Linked DNA regions of Homo sapiens: region 1 is linked to region 2. The links are contacts of gene promoters, found by promoter capture Hi-C in blood cells and fetal thymus (Javierre and others, 2016). All regions are on one chromosome and are shown on one strand. The core of a region is centred on a gene start or on the middle of the fragment in contact, and the rest is flanking DNA. Distances in the headings are between cores, read along the strand shown. Region 1 has its middle 13 kb from the start of FAM178B. Region 2 holds the start of KANSL3 (KAT8 regulatory NSL complex subunit 3).

Region 1 (3,934 bases), core at 179-2,678, 360 kb after region 2:
AGCCTGAGGAGGACCTTACAGGGCAGGACAGAATCCAGTTCAGGTTCAGGACTCAAGGAACAGAGGCCAGAGACAGGAGGGGTGCGAAACAGGGAGTCCCAAAGGAGGTGGTTGTAAAATTGAGTGTGGGAGTGGATGTCAAGGCCCTTAATAGGGGCCACTCCAGGGACTATTGCTGGGGAAGAACCGACAGACATGAGAGAGAGACGGGAGGGGGATTCCACTGTGTTAACTCAGAGGATGACCCCATTTACAAGGTGAGTGGGGTGAAGGTGAGCTCAGCTGGAAGCCATGCCAATTTTGTTTGTTTACTGCAAAAATACTTTATTTTATATATCACTAGCTGTGAATTTTTGTCATTAGTTGTTGTATGAATGCTGCCTAGTGCCATTAACCAAATGGCATGACCATTTTACGTCCACAATTCACTTCTGTATTGACAGAATTTTCTCTCTCTTTTTTTTTTTTTGAGACAGTCTCACTCTGTTGACCAGGCTGGAGTGCAGTGGCGCCATCTCCACTCACTGCAACCTCCACCTCCCAGGTTCAAGGAATTCTCCTGACTCAGCTTCCCTAGTAGCTGGGATTACAAGTGCTCACCACCATGCCCAGCTAATGTTTGTGATTTTAGTAGTGATGCGGTTTTGCCATGTTGGCCAGGCTGTTCTCAAATTCCTGACCTCATGATCAGCCTGCCTCGGCCTCCCAAAGTGTTGGGATTACAGGCATGAGCCACCGTACCCAGCCTACAAACAGAATTTTCATGATTGATGTAAGTAAACCTGTCAGTGAAGATTTACCATTGAGATGCAGTCTAACATCCGTAACATCTGATGTTTTGCAGACAGCAATGTAGGAGAGACTTTTTTTTTGAGACAGAGTCTCCCTCTGTCGCCCAGGCTGGAGTGCAGTGGGGAGATCTCGGCTCACTGCAAGCTCCGCCTCCTGGGTTCACGCCATTCTCCTACCTCAGCCTCCTGAGCAGCTGTGACTACAGGCGCCCACCACCACGCCTGGCTAATTTTTTTGTATTTCTAGTAGAGACCTGGTTTCACTGTGTTAGCCAGGATGGTCTGGATCTCCTGACCTCGTGATCTGCCCACCTCGGTCTCCCAAAGTGCTGGGATTACAGGCCCGAGCCACCGCACCCGGCCGGAGAGATGTCTTTTTAATCACCTTTCATTTAAGTGCCCTTATGTAAAAAAATAAATAATTTGGAAGTTCTAAGTCTCCAAAGGACATTTTTAAACGTACATATAGAAATGGTTACAATGGGCTGGGCACGGTGGCTCACGCCTGTAATCCCAGCACTTTGGGAGGCAGAGGCGGGCGGATCACGAGGTCAAGAGATTGAGACCATCCTGGCCAACATGGCGAAACCCCGTCTCCAATCATGGATTTCTGTGCTTGCTTGAATTTGGGGATTTCCCTTCTGCTCTTCATCCTTTGTATTTTTAGTAACTAAAAATACAAAAATTAGCTGGGCGTGGTGGCGCCTGCTTGTAATCCCAGCTACTCGGGAGGCTGAGGCAGGAGAATCACTTGAACCTGGGAAGTGGAGGTTGCAGTGAGCCGAGATCGCGCCATTGCACTCCAGCCTGGCAACAAGAGCGAAACTCTGGCCGGGCACGGTGGCTCACGCCTGTAATCCCAGCACTTTGGGAGGCCGAGGCGGGTGGATCACGAGGTCAGGAGATTGAGACCATCCTGGCTAACACGGTGAAACCCCGTCTCTACTAAAAAATACACACACACACAAAAATTAGCCGGGCGTGGTGGCGGGCGCCTATAGTGCCAGCTACTCAGGAGGCTGAGGCAGGAGAACGGCGTGAACTCGGGAGGCGGAGCTTGCAGTGAGCCGATGGCGCCACCGCACTCCAGCCTGGGAGACAGAGGGAGACTCCGTCAGAAAGAAAGAAAGAGAGAAAGAGAGGAAAAAGAGGAAAGAAAGGAAAGAAAGGAAAAGTTCCAATGGGCCAGACGCAATGGCTCATCCCTGTAATCCTAGCACTTTGGGAGGCTGAGGCGGGTGGATCACCTGACTTCGGGAGTTTGAGACCAGCCTGACCACCATGAAGAAACCCCATCTCTACTAAAAATACAAAAAATTAGCTGGGCGTGGGGGCGCATGCCTGCACTTCCAGCTACTGGGGAGGCTGAGGCAGGAGAATCGCTTGAACCCAGGAGGTGGAGGTTGCAGTGAGATGATATCACCCCATTGCACTCCAGCCTGGGCAATAAGAGCGAAACTTTGTCTCAATAAATAAATAAATAAATAAATAGAAATAGTTACAATGAAAGCTGGGTGCGGTGGCTCACACCTGTAATCCCAGCACTTTGGGAGGCCAAGGCAGGTGGATCACCTGAGGTCAGGAGTTCGAGGCCAGCCTGGCCAACATGGTGAAACCCCGTCTCTACTAAAAATACAAAAATTAGCTGGGCATGGTGGCAGGTGCCTGTAATCCCAGCTACTCCGGAGGCTGAGGCAGGAGAATGACTTGAAACCGGGAGGCAGATGTTGCAGTAAGCTGAGATCGTGTCACTGCCCTCCAGACTGGGCAACAGGGCGAGACTCTGTCTCAAAAAAAGAAAAAGAAAAAAAAAGAAAAAAAAAAAGAAATGATTACGAGCCTTTTTTTTTTTTTTTTTGAGGCAGGGTCTTACTTTGTTGCCCAGGCTGCAGTGCAGTGGCATAATCACAGTTCACTGCAACCTAGACCTCCTGGGCTCAAGGAACCCTCCCACTTCAGCCTCCCCACTCTTGACATCCCCACACCCCCACCCCAAGTAGCTGGGTCTACAGGGGTACACCACCACATCTAGCTAATTAAAAAAATGTTTTGTAGAGAAGGGGGGTCTCAAACTACTAGCCTCAATCAATCCTCCCACCTCAGCTTCCCAAAATGCTGAGATTATAGGCATGAGCCGCCATGCCCAGCCTACAGACTTTTAAGAGATATTTTCCATGTCCACAGCCTATTGTAATTGCTGTACCACTTTCTCTTCCAACTGCTTTCCTTTGCCTGCAAGAGGAGCTTGAATAAGATAAATGTTTTGCTTGACTTCTTTGATGTCCTGGATTTTCTGTAGCTCTTTATTTTTCTTCAATCTGTTCATTATACATTTAGCTTGGCGTTTCTTTTTTTTATTATTTTAAGTTCTGGGATACATGTGCAGAATGTGAAGGTTTGTTACATAGGTATGCATGTGCCATGGAGGTTTGCTGCACCCATCAACCCGTCATCTAGGTTTTAAGTCCCTCATGCATTAGGTATTTGTCATAAGGCTCTCCCTCCCCTTGCCCTCCACCCCCTGACAGGCCCCAGTGTGTGATGATGTTCCCTCCCTGTGTCCATGTGTTCTCATTGTTCAACTCCCACTTATGAGTGAGAACATGTGGTGTTTAGTTTTCTGTTCCTGTGTTAGTTTGCAGAGAACGATAGCTTCAAGCTTCATCCATGTCCCTGCAAAGGACATGAACTCATTCTTTTTTATGGCTGCCCTTTTTTTTTTTTTTCTGAGACAGAGTCTCGCTCTGTGGCACCCAGGCTGGTGTGCAGTGGTGTGATCTCAGCTCCCCACAACCTCCGCCTCCTGGGTTCAAGCGATTCTCCTGCCTCAGCCTCTTGAGTAGCTAGCATTACAGGTGTATGCCACCACACCCAGCTAATTTTTGTATTTTTAGTAGAGACAGGGTTTCACCATGTTGGCCAGGCTAGTGTCGAGCTCCTGACCTCAGGTGATCCACCCACCTTGGCCTCCCAGAGTGTTGGGATTACAGGCGTGAGCCACCATGTTTGGCCATCTTGGCATTTCTGTTTAATCTCTTCAGCTCTCTTCATTGCATCAGTAGTTTTATTCCACAGGGTTTGCTGGTGTTTGATAGGTTCATTTCTAAGTTTTTCAAACTCAAATGAATGATCCACTGTAAGCT
Region 2 (4,030 bases), core at 376-2,875:
AATAGGTTGTCTGCTTTTCATTTGCACGTCTTGCTTTCCTAACTCTTGTTAGCTGTCTCACAGAGATAGCCACATTCAAGCCTGCTATCCTTATGCTGCTTAAGAGATGCCTGAATTTAACATCCAAATGCCTCATACAATCTCCCCCAGTCAATCCTGAGAAAATCCTCTCTAAATTCCCATCTGATCACTGCCCAGTGAGGTTACCAGCAGCCCTTAGAAGCCCCAACTCACATGGTACTTTCGTGCTGCCGCCGGGGAGTGACAAAGAGCATGCGGGTGGGGCGGGCACTACTGGCATCTGGGTGGGCACTCCAAGGCTTGGCATAGCTATGATCCAGAAAAACCAGGTCCAGCTCCCGTTCATGCACTGAAAGCTGGAAGAGCAGCGAGGTGCCCATGCGTCGAGCTGAAGTCTGGAAGTCCCTCTCCCCACCCCGGTGGGCCATGTCAGTGGAGGGGCAGAAAGTCAGAGCATGGGTATCTGCATGCTAGTCACCTGCAGTGAAAAGTTTCAGTTTAGGTCAATTCCAATATCCTAAATTTCTCCCAATCTACACCATCTAACATGCTTACTTTTGTAACCTACTATCATTCCTATTGAGTATCCATTTCACGGCAGACCTCTGGTGGGGACGGTTCGTGGAATCCCACACCAACACCAAAAAAAAAGAAAAAAAAAACTATGGTGCCACGAGTTGTCCCATACTCAACCTCTAGCGAACTGAAATTACCTAACGGGAGAGCTCACCGACCCCAAGGTTCAGAAAGACCTCGCGTGGACAGACAGTAAACTTGCTTGGCCAGCACCACTTCCTAGGTGGGCAGGAAGGGTTTTGACAAACAGGAAATCACAAATATGAATTCGTTGAAAGCTAAGGATCTCTGTTGCTTCACACCATCCTCTAACGACAATGCGAAGGGAGCCGGGGCCGCAGCTAGAGCGTGGGCACCCCTAAAGGGCAGGGCAACGCCGGCCTCAAAAAAGCGAATCCCAGCTAGGGCTCCACTTCTTCAAGCCTCTCGTATTGTGCGAAACAAAAGTTCTGTTAAGTACTTCGTAATATTCCAGAGTTGTTTACATAAAAATGAAAACTGCCCCCCCAACAAAGCCTGTGACAAAATGATCCCCGTGGAAGCCCTTTCACCCTCACCCCCAGTGAGGCGTCCCTAGCAAACCGCCCAGGACCCCGGCTGCCCCGCAGGCGTTCCCGCCACTGAGCCTCCACACGGCCCATCTAGGAGACAGGGCTATGACTCGCATTTTACAGACGAAGTCGCCAGCTCGGGGAACTGAAGCGATTTGGCCAAGGTCATCCAGAGTTCGCGACGAGGAGGAGCCGCCTGGCCCCCGCCTCCCGCCTCCCGCTCCCTGGGGCAGGGCTCGGCGTCCGCGTCACGGAGGCCCAGACGCGGCCCCTGCCAGCCCGCCCCCGGCCCGACCCGCCCCGCCCGACCAGCACCGGCAGCCGGCCCTAGCCCGGGCCCCCGCATGCCCCGGGAGCCCTGAAGCCCTCGCCGAGACCCCCGGCCGTCCCAACCACGGCCGCGATCCCCACGGCCCGCCACTCCCCTCGAAGCCAACGCTGCTCTCACCCGCGGTCTTACGGCCGCGCGCTCGGCCACGGCCGGATCCCTAAGCGCGTGCGCGTTAACGCCTCCACGCCCCGGCGCTGCGGGCACCGAGTAAAACGCGGAAGCGGGTTACGGCCTGGGAAGGGAGAGGCGGTGAGCGGCAAAGCCCGGAACGGATGAAGCTCCGGCGCCTCTGTCCGGAAGAGGAGAGCCAAGAACACGCGAGCATGTCCGAAGCAGAAAGTCAACAACTAGGCTGGAGTTTCCCCCTCGCGCATATTCAGTAGGGAAAGCGAGGGCGGAGGACTAGGCTGGCTTCTACGGCCCCAGTTCTCGCCACCCCCACCGTGTTGGTCCTTTGTGCCCTCTGGGCGGTCGAGCACCCAACGGTCCACCTCCACCAGGGCAGCCACCTGAATTTACTCATTAAGAATTTACCTAATGTGGCTCACGCCTGTAATCCCAGCGCTTTGGGAGGCCTAGGCGGGAGGACCTCTTGAGCTCAGGAGTTTGAGATGAGCCTGGCCAATATGATGAGACCCCCGTATCTACAAAAAATTTTAGAAATTAGGTGTGTGTGATAGTGGTGTATGCCTGTAGTCCCAGCTACCCGGGAGGCTGAGGTGGGAGGATCACTTGAGTCTGGGAGGTCCAGGCTGCAATGAGCCATGGTTGCACCACTGCACTCCAGCCTGGACGACGGAGTGAGACTACGTCTCAAAAAAAAAAAAAAAGAATTTTGTTACTGACCCTAGATTGTTTTGTGTGGTTAACTTTCCTATGTGTTTTGTGTAGAGAGAGTAGATCCTCAAAATCAGGGACATTAACCTTTGTATCCTCCAGAGAACATACACCCAGAACATAGGTAATTGTTCAAATGTTGACTGATCAATAATTGGTTATTTGGTTGACTGACTGACAACATGACATCAAGAGACATGAGACAAGACAGCAAGAGACATGGTTCAAGATGATAAATCTCACCCGGGATCTGTGGCTCATGCCTATAATCCCAGTACTTTGGGAGGCCAAGGTGGGAAGATTGCTTGAGCCCAAGAGTTCAAGACTAGCCTGCACAAAACAGTGAGACTTCGTTTCTATTTAAAAAAAGAAATGGCCGGGTGCGGTGGCTCACGCCTGTAATCCCAGCACTTTGGGAGGCTGAGGAGGGTGGATCACGAGTTCAGGAGTACAAAACCAGCCTGGCCAACATAGCGAAATCCTGTCTCTACTAAAAATACAAAAATTAGCCAGGTGTGGTGGCGCATGCCTGTAATCCCGGCTACTCGGGAGGCTGAGGTGGGAGAATCTCTCAAACTCAGGAGGCAGAGGTTGCGGTGAGCCAAAATCGCGCCATTGCACTCCAGCCTGGGCGACACAGCAAGACTCTGTCTCAAAAAAAAAAAAAAGATAGGTACAGACATGCAAACACTCGAAACATTCAGAAAGCCACTCAAAGCTGTGTTCCACAAAGATGAGAGGGTAAACTGAGAAGACGGAAGGCATAGGATCGGGGAAGCAGGGTCTAACACAAGAAGCAGACGAGGAATTCTGAAGGTGATGGCAAAGAGTATCCCAGGACAATAGCTATGCTGCAGGACTGGGGACCACTAGTCTCAGCTGGGGGAGAAGAGAAGACCAGGAGGGAGAGCCCCGGGGAAAACAATAAAACTGGGAAAATGCCTCATAGATTTGAAAAAATCAAGGAATGCTATTTAAAAGTGCTGTTTAGAAATATGGAGCTTAAGGCCATAGAAATTATCACAAATAGAGCAGCCCCTGCCCCACCTCTCCCTACCCTTAACTTTGTCTCCTGGGCGCTTGTTTGGGGCCAGGGTTCTGCTATTTCTCTACTTATATTCCCATTCCCACTAAAAACAGATTTGTATCTTTTCTCTGCCCCTTCCTTTCCTCAGCACACCACGTTTATCATTTTGTTTCATTCTTTGCCAATTTAAGAGGTGATAAATGGTATCTTATCCCATTTATTTGCTTATTAATGAGTTTTTTGTTTTGTTTTGTTTTTGTTTTTTTGAGACAGAGTCTCTCTCTGTCGCCCAGGCTGGAGTGCAGTAGCGTGATCTCGGCTCACTGCAACCTCCACCTCCCTGGTTCAAGCGATTCTCCTGCCTCAGCCTCCCGAGTAGCTGAGACCACAGGCGTGTGCCACCATGCTCGGATAATTTTTTGTATTTTTAGTAGAGACGGGGTTTCACTGTGTTAGCCCGGATGGTCTCGATCTCCTGACCTCGTGATCCGCCCGCCTTGGCCTCCCAAAGTGCTGGGATTACAGGCGTGAGCCACCGTGCCCAGTGAGTTTGATTTTTTTTTTTTACATCTTTTTTGGCTTTTGAAACCAATTTGGCAAAGTCATAAATTGTATTTCATTGTATTTCTTTGATTATTAACAAGACTGAGGGTTTTTTAAAAAAAATTTTTTTTTGTCATTTTGGGC

Evidence for each region. Contacts are between HindIII fragments. The CHiCAGO score rates a contact against its expected background, and 5 or more counts as called.
Region 1: a fragment that was not itself captured here is called in contact with the fragment with the promoter of KANSL3 in region 2 in 1 of 17 cell types (non-activated CD4 T cells); the score reaches 5.3 in non-activated CD4 T cells.

Annotation. Positions count from the first base shown.
Region 1 is chr2:96,997,487-97,001,420 of GRCh38, forward strand. It overlaps the pseudogene LOC100420569. Among named protein-coding and RNA genes, the nearest start is that of FAM178B, 13 kb to the left of the region's middle. The HindIII fragment of the contact is 4,040 bases long and covers 1-3,448 here.
Region 2 is chr2:96,636,687-96,640,716 of GRCh38, forward strand. KANSL3 (KAT8 regulatory NSL complex subunit 3) reads right to left here and starts at 1,626. Exons shown (of 21, transcript NM_001115016.3): 1 at 1,597-1,626; 2 at 235-499. The coding sequence starts at 449. RefSeq lists a silencer at 1,346-1,555. The HindIII fragment of the contact is 21,308 bases long and covers 1-4,030 here.